Regions from separate parts of the Homo sapiens genome. Here region 2 is linked to region 1. Evidence: promoter capture Hi-C in human tissues and cell types (Jung and others, 2019). All regions are on one chromosome and are shown on one strand. Each heading gives the region's core, a stretch centred on a gene start or on the middle of the fragment in contact. The rest is flanking DNA. Distances are from core to core; before and after follow the strand shown.

Region 1 (6,448 bases), core at 3,720-6,219:
AATAACCTAGTTAGGATCCACGTCTATTTTACCCCTTACTGGGACAAAGCACTTTCACACCTGTTATCTTGGTAGGTTCTATCAATAACTCCAGTGCAGTTCCATATTGCAGATAAGTAAGCTTAGAACTAAATTGGAGAAGCACTACCCAGGTTCACACAGGAAGCCCTCTATCCCCATTCCCCTGTAATATGCAGGGCTTAAACTCCAATTTCTTGTTGCTAGATCCAGCATAAAATTGGTTAGCTTGGTCTAAGAAGGAATAAGTACTACTTTATCTATCTATCTATCTATCTATCTATCTATCTATCTATCTATCATCTATCTATCCATCCATCTATCTATTCATCCTTCTCTCCATCAACCCAACCATCTAACCATCTGTCCATCCATCCATCCATCCATCCATCCATCCATCCATCCATCCATCCATCTTTCCACGCTCCCTCCTTCCCATCCATTTTCCCACCCTTTCAGCCTCTCACTCATCTATTCTCTCATTGTCTCAGCTTTCCAATCATCCATCCGGCATCACACCCTGTCATCTCTGGGCAGGATAAGCTGCTCCTCTGGCCTCACCCATCAAGCAGAGAAATTTGCAGGCTTCCAGGGGAATGGGTGCAGTCACCAAGGACCAGGTGGATCCTCTCCTGCTTATCTCTCACAGCTAAGATTTCTGCAGTGATGTCCAGCTTCACAGCCAGCCTCAACAGACTTGCACCGACCAGGGGCCTGCAAAGGAGACAGCCCCACTGGTATCTAGCTCCACCACATTCCAAGGAAGAGGGTTATTTTCTCCTTGCCAAGAATGCTAGCCTCACCTCACTCCATCTTGCCCACAGTTGTACTTATCTCATTTTCTAGCAGGAGAAACAAAGACTTAAGAGGTCAAGTGAGTTTCCCAAGTGACCCAAGGCCACTTAGCATAGCAGCAAATGAGCTGAAGTTGGAGGCTCAGGTCTGTTAGACTCCAATACCCCCGTTATGGTTAACCATGGTCACCAGGGTCTCCCTCGGTGAGCCATCCTCTCACCCCCTCTTGGGACCCACTCACGTATTCACTTGGAGCTTTATGCCGAGAGGGATGGTGACATAGAGACGGTGGCCATCAGGGCTCTGCACAAGGCCAAGTTCCAGCAGCTGGGGGTCAGTGACCTTTATGCTGTCCAGGGAGTAATATTGGAGGGGGAAACATTAGCTCCTCTAGCTCCAAACCCAGAAACCATCTTTAACCTAACAGTACCCATCCCAGAGGTAGAGCTTCCCACCCAGGATAGGGAGATGGGAGGGGAGTCTTGCAGCCTAAGCCACGTGGGTTCTGAGTCACACACTAGGTCTTTTCCAGCCTCTGCCCTGGAACAGATCTGACACACACACAGGGCCCTTTCCTTATCTCCAGTCTATGAGGTATTCAGGACAACAACTGTGTCTGGATTATATCTGCATCCTGTATGCCAGCTAAGAGCCTTACAAAGAAAGTGGCTACTTCATATTAGTTGACTGGATTGATGGGAAGGTGGGTAGTGGATATGTGGGTACATGGATGGAAGAGTAAGTGATTAGGTAGAAGGATGGATAACTGGATGATGGATTGGTCAGTGGATGAATGGATGATGCAGGTGCAACTGGAAGTAAATCTGCACAAACATTTATGGGTAAGAATCACTCACCCTGTCAGGTGGCCAATCACCAATGTTTATCATGGGAATTGAGGAGCAGGAAGTCAGGGAGAGTGCAGAAAGGGTGGAAGGAAGCCATTCTCCCATTGTCCTATCTTTCCAACCATCCATCCATCATCACACCCTGTTGTCTCCAGGAGAAGCCAGGCCTGTGACCGCACCCATCAAGCAGGGAGGCCATTTGATGGGTGAGGCCATTCACTGAGCCAGCCACTGCGCCAGGTGATTTACACCTTTTCCAGTCCTCACAATACACTTTCTCTGTGGGTTCTATAATCTATATTTTACAGATGGAGAAACCAAGCACAGAGAGACAGGGTGTCCTGTCCCAGGTCATCCAACAAGTACATTTGAAAATCAAAGTCAAGAAGTCTGTCTGTCTCCAAGTCAGGGAGTGAGACCCTGGGTGGGTAGGATTTTGGAAATGGCTTTGATCCAGTCCTATCCAGGAACCAGGCTCTGCCGGCTCACTGGCATCAAGCTTCCATTCTTGCTTTTTGCTTTGCGAGCTCTTGGGTGTCTCATGGGAAACTCCACGTTAGACCTTTCCATGGACATCACACTGTTTTTCATCACATTGATATCATCAAGGTGGGCAGGTTATACTCTCGCTAACATCAAAGGCCGTCTGTGTTCTAAGGGATTTCACAGGTGCAGAGAACAAAATGACCACAGTGTAGTGGGAAGAGCCTTGGCTTTGGAGTTAGGATAGTAGAGTGAGAGCCTTACTCACTTGGCATCACTCTAGCAGCGTGAACACAGGCACCTCTGTGCTTTGGTTTTCCCATTTGCAAACTGGAGATTATTAAATCGACCTCAAAGGGTTGTGGTGAGGATTATAGATGATGCTGGGGCCTCAGGACATGCCTAGAACTGAGGGCATTGCTGGTTTGGGGAGGACGGGTGTCCCTGCCAAACTGGAGATGGGTCTCAGAACTGAGTCCTGGCTCCATCTTCAGGCCGCTCCCTCGCTGCTTCAGGGTCGCTGCTTCAGGGTCACTGCCTGGGGCTGGCAGATCTTCACCTGGGGTTCCCTGGTGGAGATCAAAGCTCTATTTTAGGACAACTCACTCAATGATGTTGTTCAGGCCAGGAATCACTGACGTCACTTTTCCAAGCAGTCCCCCAAGGAGGCCACCAGAAGTACCTCCTCCAGGCTTCAGGATGTCCAGGAGCGGAAGGTTTTCCAGAATGCCCAACAGGCCCCCAGACAGCAGGCCATTGCTGAGGGCTGGAAATGGGTGTAAGGGTCTCTGGGGGTCAGATCTGACAATTCCAGATCCTCAGGCCCCCTCCCCCATCCAGCCCTGTCCCTCCCCACTTTGCAGGGTTGGACACACACACACACACACACACACACACACACACACACACACACACACACACATGCACACATACACCCCTGAAAACTCACCATTTGTCAAGCTTCCTGCAAGACCTGTGGGACTCAAGGGCAGGGCTGGATTCACATTCAAGGGCAGGGTCTGGTCCAGGGGCACGGGCAGGCCTCCAAACTGGGCCATGGTCTGGGCTAACAGCCCGTAGAAGACAATGAGGCCCCCAGTTTGAAACATCTTTGCTCTTAGTATCTGTGGCCAGAATGACAAGTCCAACATGGCATGGGTATCAGAGAGGAATTTATCCACCACCTGCCCTGACACCTGGGGGGTGGGGTTGTTTGCTCCCCAGAACACCAGGGGGTCACTAGTAATAGCTAATACTGCTGAACAATTTCTCTTTGCCAGGCAACAGGCTGACCACTTTACACAATTTCATCTTCATCACAACCCTAAGACATGGGCACCTGTTACCTGCATTGCACAGGTGAGGACCACTGATCAGGGGCCTAAAAAGGAGACAGCCCCACTCCACCACATTCCAAAGAAGAGGGTTTTTTTCCTTCTTGCCAAGAATCCCAGCCTCACCTCACTCCATCTTGCCCACAGTTCACTTGTCTGATTTTCCAGTAGGAGAAACCAAGGCTCACAGAGGTCAAGTGAGTTTGCAGTTGGGAGTTTCAAATATACTCCCATCCCTTCTTGAAACCCACTTGTGTACTACCGAGTGTGGGTAACTTTCCCCAAGGTCACAAGTACACGGTGGACAGAGGATTAGAAGCTAGAGCCAGGTGAACCCTCGGTTAAATTAAGTAACCATCAGATTTATTCTCCAATCGGGCTTGCTTCAATGGTTTGAATCATTGCTGCTCTTCAGACAAAGCAAATGAGAAGGGTTAAACGTGCAAGTGCTGAAGAATTGAACTGTTTTAGATCATCCCTGTTCAGTCCTTTGGCCTGAGCTCAGGCCATGATGGTTGGTGGATGCCCTTGAAAGTCACACAATACAGGGGTCGCATGGCCACAGCCACCATCTCATGTAGACCTTTGTTGGGGAATTCCTGGGGCCATCAAAGTCTTCATTGCATGAGAAGAACCAGGAGACCAAAGAGGGGTAGTGACTTTCCCAAGGTCATACAATAAATTGATGGCAGAGCTGTGGTTGAAGGCAGGTCTCCCAACCCTCCCCTCACCCAACACACAAACATGCATTCTATCATTTTGACACCTTTCTCTTCTCCTTCAAGCTGCCCTGGATGGAATTCCGGTCAACCCCTGAGGTTTGGCTTGCAGACCTCTCACAGGTCTATTTGGCAGCCAGCAGAGTTGTCCAGAGCCAGCACTAGTACCTACAATTTGGAGACAACTGGTGACTTTGTGCAAAATTCCATCTATTGGCTGACTCAGCTAAAGCTCCATCCTTGTGGTGGAAGGCTGGAAATGAAAGGTCTTTGGTCCAAAGAGCCAGTTGTGCCCTTCTTAGGGAGGTAACTTTGACCACAGCCTCTGAATCTCTTTTGGGCAACAGACCCTTTATGAATCCAATGGAAGCTAAAGATCCTAGTCTCAGAAAAAATGCATCAAAATGTATAAAATTGGGTGAAGAATTTTAGGAGGTTTTTGGATCATCTGTATCCACATTGGTAACCTCAAGCTAAAACTTATGCCTTAGAGGCTTTCATTTACGGCATTAATAGTGCCCATTTCTATATCAATGTTACTGGTCTCTTAGGACAGCAGAGCAAATGGCCATCCCCACATCCCTGACATTGGCCAGGTCTGTTTCTCTTGCACAGCCCCCAGTGAGTGATCAAGATCACTCACTGCCCCACAGGGCAGGAGCCTGAGATCCCTGCCGTTAAGGGTAGCAGAGGGGCCACAGAATGGATGGCTCTTACCTGGACTTCTTAGAGGTCTCAGCAGCTGTCCTGGTCTCCTCTCTCTCCCCCACTCACTTCTGCCGAGGAGTCAGCCTCTTTTATAGTATGGGGACGAGGAAGCATGTGTTGGGTGATGGGTTTCTAGATAATTGAGAATTCTGCAATCTGACAGTGTCTTTCAGGGCTCTCCAAAGTAAATAATTGCCAATCACATTAGCAGGTGAGACAGTTAAGCTATTTGGTCAACAAGATAAACAGAGAAAAACCTGAGATGGGATGTTACTCAAGACTTTATGGTTTCCTGAGCGGAGCCAAGGTTGGGGACCCACGCTCCCAAGGTAGCTTGGAGCATTGAAAGGAGCAGCCAGACAGAGCCCAGGAAGGGACCTCAGTCTCATCTCTTGGCCCCTTTCCTCTCCTGCTCTAATTTTTTTGCTCCAGTTGGAGGATTCTTTCTCCTAAAATGTCAAAAGAGTCACACTGCATCCTACATCTGGGGTGCGTCTCCATTCCAGGGCAAGGGTCTCCTGTTTTCAGAGCCCCTATTGCACGTCAGGAGCTCTCTGTCCTCACAAGAACCCTGAGAGGGAGAGGTGACTCCTCCTCTTTTATAGAGGAGGAAACTGAGATCCAGTGGGGACAAGTGCTGAAAGACCCAGAGAGGATGCAGCAGAGTTAGAATGCAACTGACTGGAGAATGAAAACAACAAAAACAACGCCAACAGCAGACACTGGCCGAGCTCCTGCTGTATGCCTGGCCTGCCATGGTGTTCACAGGCAGCATCTCACAAAATCCTCACAACCCTGTACTCCTATTCTATAAGGGGGAAACTGAGGCTGAGTGTGAGGCAAGTTGTCCAGAGATGCAGTGCTTGCCTGGGGTGAGACATCCACATTCAGGTCCTTTCCCCGAATCACTGCACTGAGAGATGAAGGTGCCTCCCAACACTTGCTGGCCATTTTGATTTCCCCACCTGTGAACTTTACACTTTCATGCGTCCCTTTTTATTTTTTAAATTTTCACTTAATTTTTATTTTATTTTATTTTTTGAGACAGTCTTACTCTGTCGCCCAGGCTAGAGTGCAGTGGTGTGATCTCAGCTCATGACAACCTCCACCTCCCGGGTTCAAGTGATTCTCCTGCCTCAGCCTCCTGAGCAGCTGGGACTACAGGCGAGCGCCACCATGCCTGGCAAAGTTTTTGTATTTTTAGTAGAGATGGGGTTTCACCATGTTGGCCAGGCTGTCCTCGAACTCCTGACCTCAGGTGATCCACCTATCTCAGCCTCCCAAAGTGCTGGGATTACAGGCGTGAGCCACAGTGCCCCGCCGCTTCTCTTTTAGGTCCTGGAAAAGTCTTTCCAGGTTCCCAGGCCTGAGGGATCCTTTGGCATCCTGGTCTCTATCCTACCCTTTCTTCTACCTTTCCCTAAATGGAGTAATCAGGCATTTATTTATCCCCACCACTGGGGCCCTTGGAGTCTGTTCAGCAGATGAAAAAGTGAAGACACAGGAAGGCCAAGGTCCTGGACCAGTGAGCGCAGCTCTTACC
Region 2 (6,765 bases), core at 2,701-5,200, 130 kb after region 1:
GTGGACACTTCCAGAAGTGCTTATTATGTGCCAGGCCTGTGCAAGGCACGTTACACACAGAATCCCATTTTCTCCTAAAAGCAGCCCTATGGGTAGGTAGTATGATTAGCCCCTTTTTATAGAGGAAATAAATGGAGGCTTGGAGAGGTTACCCAGCTGGAAACTGGCAGAGTTAGGATTTGAACTGGGGTCACTGGGCTCCAAGCCCTCGTTCTTTAACCCCAATGCTCTACTGATTCCCTGAGCAAAGCCATGTTTAAAAATAAAACTTCAGAAAGACTGGAATGAAAAGCAGCAAAATGTTCTCAGGGGGAATTGCTGGATTGTATATATGTCTATATATATATATAGACATATATATATGGATGCATACTTTTTTTTAATCTTTTCCATATTTTCCAAATTTCAGATATTGAGCACGGGTGGTTTTTATAGTGGAAACAAGAACCCCTGCATGTGAACTTCAAAGCACCTGCCATGATTATAATTAGCCAATTACTTCGGGAATATTTACCAAAAGGCCATCTCCCCATTGGGCTAAGAGAGCTTTGCAAGGGCCAGGGTTGTCCTTGTTCACTGCTGGATCCCCAGGCCCCTGCATAGTGCCTGGCACACAGTAGGTGCTCAATAAAAGTTGCTCCAATGAACTATACCACATTCCATTTTGGGCAAGCCCCTTACTGCTGTGAGCCTCAGTTCTCACATCTGTAAGATGGCAACAATGACACCTGTGGTGAGGGCTAAATGAGACTGAATGGGAGAGTGTCTTCAAGGATCCTTAACAGCTCTGCTCCTTGTTCCCTCAGCCCCATGCTTGGAAGGAAGAGGACCCTGTTTCCTCCCCTTCCCTCCTCTTCTCTTCCTCTTCCAAGTTCCTGGCCTGAATGCAGTGGTCAAAGGTGATGAGCAAAGGGCAGGGAGGAAAAGCAGAATGGAGCTCGATCTCCTCTTACCTCCAACACGTCAATGTCTGCATTGCTAAAGTCGATGTTGAGGATTTTGGGGAGAGGGACGCCAGAACCCAGCACAGCTGTAAAATAAAAAACAGTCAGACATGGTCAGTGGTCCAAGAGGTGTTGGTCTCACCAGAAGCCGCCAGTATTTGTAAGAAGATTGGCAATTTCTTTTTTCTTTTTTTGAGACAGAGTCTCGCTCTGTTGCCCAGGCTGGAGTGCAGTGGCACAATCTCGGCTCATTGCAACCTCCACCTCCCAGGTTCAAGTGATTCTCCTGCCTCAGCCTCCCAAGTAGCTGGGATTATAGGCACATGCCAACATGCCTAATTTTTGCTTTTTTTGTTTGTTTGTTTGTTTTGTTTTTTGTTTGTTTGTTTTGTTTGTTTTAGTAAAGACAGGGTTTCACTATGTTGGCCAGGCTGATTTTGAACTCCTGACCTCAGATGATCTGCCCCCACCTCGGCCTCCCAAAGTACTGAGATTACAGGTGTGAGCCATGGTGCCCACACCTGGCAATTTCTTTTTCTTTTTCTTTTCTTTTCCCTTTTCTCTTTTCTCTTCTTTTCTTTTCTTTTCTTTCCTTCCTTCCTTCCTTCTTTCTTTCATTTTTTTTTTTAACTGAGTCTTGCTCTGTTGCCCCAGCTGGAGCGCAGAGGCACGATCTCAGCTCACTGCAACATCCACCTCCTGGGTTCAAATGATTTTCTTGCCTCAGCCTCCTGAGTAACTGGGACTACAGGCGTGCGCCACCACGCCCAGCTAATTTTTGTGTTTTTAGTAGAGATGGGGTTTCACCATATTGGTCAGGCTGGTCTTGAACTCCTGACCTCGTGCTCCACCCGCCTTGGCCTCCCAAAGTGTTGGGATTACAGGCTTGAGCTACTGTGCCCGGCCCTGGCAATTTCTTTTATGCCTCTAGGCCTTTGTCCTTGCAGTTCCTCCTGCCTGGTGCACATTCTCTCACCCTAGCATCCCTGGTGAGTTCTGAGCCCTCTCTGAGACTGTTCAGATGTTACCTCCTCTGCAAGGTTTTCTGGACCCCAAACGACTCAAGGCTCCTGCAGCACCCCCATCCCACCTCCGAACTGCTCTATTAGAGAAACCATAAAATATTAATTATCTGTTTCTGTATCTGTCACGCCCACCACATTGTGAGTTCCCTGAAGGCAAGAACTATGTCCCCTTGGGAGGCCAAGGTGGGTGGATCACTTGAGGTCAGGAGTTTGAGACCAGCCTGGCCAACATGGCAAAAACCCATCTCTACTAAAAATACAAAAATTAGCTGGGTGTGGTGGTGCACAGCTGTAATCCCAGGTACTCGGGAGGCTGAGGCAGGGGAGTCTCTTGAACCTGGGAGGCAGAGGTTGCAGTGAGCCGAGATCGTGCCACTGTACTCTAGCCTGGGCCACAGAGTGAGACTCCATCTCAAAAAAAAAAAAAAGAAAGAAAAGAGCTGTGTCCCCAGCATCACCCAGCCCTTCGCCCAGTCATAGAGGAGATGGCAAATGTTTGCCGAGTGAAGTAATGGAAAGTGCACGTGGAGCCCTAGCCATTGACTCTGCCGTGGGATGTGCTGTTTGTTTTCAGATTGTCAGAGCCTAAGTAAACCTGCTAATTACTGTTCTAGAAAGAGAGCAGGAAGAGAGAAAAAGAAGTGGGGTAGGAAAGAGTGGATGGGGGAAGTAAATTAAGTGAAATTTAACAGACTTCTCTATTCCAGCAGGACTTTTCAAAAAGCTAAGGACATTGTGAATCTACCCTGCAGGAGTATCTTCAGCACTTCCCAAACTTGCTCGGCCATGGAACGCTTTTTGCAGGGTATTTTGTGGGACTGCTTTACGGAGCTCACTTTGGGGACTATGGACCTTGTCCAAGCTCTCATTTTGAAAATGGTGAATTGCACTTCAGTATGATTAAAAGACTCGCCCCCAAGTTCACACCACTCTTAGTGATTAAGCCAGGCAAGACGCTCCGTCTCTTCCCTCCCAGGTCAGCCCAGCCCAGCCCCTGACCCCATCCTCTCACAGAGAAACCACCACTTTCCCCACCAGTGAGACTCGGCTTCCTCTGACCACAGGGCCCAGAACAAGGGTTTGTTTGACATCAAGATGGCTCCAACAGAACCCCCGCTGGTGTAGCTGATGACATTGGCTGGGATGTGCCAGCCCTCCTTGTCTTCTCATCCAGGAAGCAGGAGTGGGAGAGAGTCTGGGGCCCAGTGACCCCAGGGCTTGGGCAGTTTCCCAGTCCCAGTATGTGAGTAGCCAATGACCCCCATAGTTCAACAAGCAGCCTTCCCAGTAACATTCCTGAGACGCCCCAGAGAGCAAAGCAAGCTCAGTCTACTCTGTTTATAAAGTTGGGCAAGAAAACCTCCTAACTTGATGTGGTTCCCTAGGGGGGCAGATTCTGGGCTAGGAAGGAGGCTGGGGATGTCGATAAGAGCAACTTTAGCTGTATCTGCGCCAATGGAACTTTTCACAATAAGAATGTATTCCTGTAGTTCCTGTATCATTAAAAATAAATACATGTTTAAATATGAGTCAGGAAAGATCTCAATCATATGGGAAAACAATGGAGAAAAAGAGTTTAGAAGGAAATATGCTCAGATGTTGAGATTCATTGCCTCTGCGAGGTGAGTTTTTTTTAAATTGTTTTATATTTTCTAAAACTTGCACACACACAATGTTAATACATAATCGGAATTTTCATAGATAATCAGAAAAATAAAACAATCAGCCAAACAAGAAAGAAGCAAATAAGGAAGGTGCTGGAACTTTGGGGGCCACGTTTGGATTTGGAGGCTTTCATCGACACGCTTCAAAGGAAGTGCTCAGAAATACTATTGAGGTAGGATAGATGCACATCCAGCATGCCCAACAAGCCAGTATCCCCCAGTACCCAAGCCACAAGCTCCCAGAGAGGCACAGGCACCCGCTCTCACCGTTCATTGCGGGCATGAATGCCAGGTCAAAAATCTTCTCCACCAGCACCTCCATGAGGCCAATCTGCAGAGGAAGAAGGAGGACAGAGCCTGGGCAGGGGGTTTGCTCAGCTCCAGAGGGCCCCTTGGGTCTGCTCCCCTGGCTCAAGGTGGAGACACAGACCTGCTCTGGGAGAGTCTAGGTTCTGGCAGTCAGAACCCCTGAGACCCCAGAATTTCTCACCGGCAGCCTTAAGGTGCCCCCCATCAACTTGCACATTGTGCAGATGGGCAGACTGAGGCCCAGCATGGGTGGTGGCCCAAGGCCCCTATGAAGCAGGGATTGAGGGAGGCCTAGTTCCTCCCCTGGGAGGCACAGAGCACAGGTTTCAGGGTGGCCTGGCCCCGATGGCACTGTCATGGCATCACAGAAGTCCCAATGGCCCTGGAGCCAACACCCCAGGTTCCCATCCCAGCTCAGTCTCCGTGGGCCTCTGGGCAGGCTCCTTCACCTCTCTAACCCTCAGCTTCCTCAGCTGTAAAATGGGTCAGTGAGCTGAGTTTGCAAGGATGCGGTGAGGATGGTGGGTAGATCACGTAAAACTCCTGGCCTTGAGCCTTTTCATATGTTACCTCCCTTAACTTCTCTAAGCCTTGGTTTCCACATCTGAAAACAGGAGTGAGTAACCCTTGCCTCATAGGGTGGTTATAAAAATCAGACATAAGCCCCTATATGTAACATGCCTGATGTTCCAGTCTGCAGAGGGTGAGGGCATGGACTCACTTTCCGGCAGTGCCTCTTCCTAGCTCTGTTGCCTTGGGCAAGTCACTTGAGCTTACCTTCCTTATTTGGAAGAATGGGTGTAATAATAATACCCAAATCATAACACGGTGGTAAGGATTAAATGAGAAAACCTCATTAAAAGAGAAAAAAAAGCATAATTCAGTGCCTAGGGCCCATCTCGATAGCTTCATTAATTCATTAATTTTACACTGTCAGCCCCTTTCTTCACTTGGAGTCCAGAGATTTCAGTTCTAATCCCAACTCTGCCCCAACCAGCTGGGAAGCCTTGGGCAGTTTATCCTTATAAAATGAAGCTGGCAAGATCGGCTTCACAGGCTGTAGCTTTTTGGGTTAGAAAAGCTATAAAATTAGCAACACAATGAATGGGTTTGACTTTTTCTGCACATGTGGAGATCTCATCCAAGCTTGTCCCAGAAAGCTAGCAGATGCTTAGTTGTCAATTTATAAAAAGCGGAGGTGGGGGGGTGGGGAGGAAGGAGTGTTTCTGAAGCCTTAGGTGGGGGTGGGGCACCCAAGAGTGAACAAAGAGATAAAACAGGACCCAACGCTAGAATGTGAGCATCTCAGATTTCTGGACCCTTGGAAAAGCAGAATTCCACAACCCAGGGGCAAGAAGGGAGGTTAGAAATGAACTCAAATTGTATTCATTTTACAGATGGGGAAACTGAGGCTCAGAGTGGGTTGATATCGCTCAAGGTCACACAGGAGTCAGTGGGCTCCTAACTCCAGAAGGAAAGTGGTCCTGTAGGACAAGGCTGCCCACTGTGCCTCCCCACCCTGAAATGGAGCGATTTGGGCCAAGTGGCCCCCCATGGGGCAGCCAGTTAACATGGGACAGCACCCGAGGCAGAGTAGAAGGAGCTGTGAGTCTGTCCTCTGCCCCTCACTTGCCTTGTGGGCCTCAGTTTCTACATCTGTCCATCTGCAAAATGAGGGCTGATAGTGTTGACGGGAGCACTTTGGAATTCACAAACTCCCCATGCCCAGCCAGCCTCACAGGAACACCATTCCCGGAAGACACGTCCTGGGCTCCTTCCCAGAAGATCTTGCCCTGGGAACTAAACATGGTACTTACATCAAAGTTGCCCACGTTTGAGGTTCTGAGGTTGAGGCTGGTCCTGTAGACGAAGAAAACAGCCTGTGAGAAGCAGGGATTGCCTGAAAATCATAAGGCTCTTGCATTGCAACAAATTGTGAGAAGCCCCTCCACTATCCTCACGATCACTCTCCACCTGCAGGGATTTAATAAGAACAATGCTGGCTCTCACATGCTGAGCGCTAACTACACGTCGGACACCATGCTAAGGGCTTCATGCACCACACGGAGAAGGCTCAAATCATAGCTTTGCCACCTACTAGCTTTGTGACCTTAGTCAAGGTACTTTACCTTTCTATGCCTCAGTTTCTTCATCTGCAAAGTGGGTGGCTGCTAGGACTAAAGGGGATATTCCCATAAAGCGCTGCTCCAGAGCCCTGCCATAGGTGCATGAGTGATCACCATCACCTCGTGTAATCCTTCCAGCCCTCCAGTGGAGCAGGCTCCAGGGTAATTTACTGCAGCCACAGAGCCAGGGAGGGATAGCCTAGGCCTCGCACCCTGAACCTGCACTCTCACTGTTGTGCTGTTCTGAGATGGGAGGCTGAGGCCGGGGTTTGAGGTCTCGCTCTGCTCTATAAGGGCCTCCGTCTTGCTGCACCTGAATCTCAATACAGCTGACAGTCCTACCCGAGAGAGGCCAGACCGGGCTTGCCCGTGGGGCGGAAATCGTTCGGGGCTGTTCAGAAGCATCAGCTCGGTGTCCAGCAGGAGGGAAATAAAGGTACCTTCTAAGGAAACAAGACTCTCCGCTTGGGACATGTTTTCTTCCTTCCTGACTTCCTTACCCAGCCTCTCTCCCTCTCAGGCACCGCACCCCACAGTATCCGTGCCCTTTTCCTCTCTGCGAAGCTTGCCCATGCTGCTCTCCCTGCAGGAAATACCCAGCTCTTGCCCAGCTGGCCCCTACTCCTTATCCAGGCTGCAGGCTGAATCTTGCCTCCTTGGGAACTCCTGGATGTCTCTGATGTGCACTATATTAATC

What was found. The method cuts DNA at HindIII sites, captures the fragments that hold promoters and counts their contacts. A contact is called where the count stands out against the background at its distance.
Region 2: a fragment that was not itself captured here is called in contact with the fragment with the promoter of BPIFA1 in region 1 in 1 of the 25 tissues and cell types used here (mesendoderm cells).

The regions. Positions count from the first base shown.
Region 1 is chr20:33,234,517-33,240,964 of GRCh38, reverse strand. It overlaps BPIFA1 (BPI fold containing family A member 1), which reads right to left and starts at 4,969. Exons shown (of 9, transcript NM_130852.3): 1 at 4,915-4,969; 2 at 3,094-3,268; 3 at 2,751-2,910; 4 at 1,055-1,162; 5 at 580-732. The coding sequence starts at 3,253. The HindIII fragment of the contact is 6,820 bases long and covers 2,633-6,448 here.
Region 2 is chr20:33,102,009-33,108,773 of GRCh38, reverse strand. It overlaps BPIFB4 (BPI fold containing family B member 4), which reads right to left. Exons shown (of 18, transcript NM_182519.3): 15 at 5,760-5,802; 16 at 3,901-3,964; 17 at 954-1,030. Among named protein-coding and RNA genes, the nearest start is that of BPIFB4, 26 kb to the right of the region's middle. The HindIII fragment of the contact is 8,468 bases long and covers 1-6,765 here.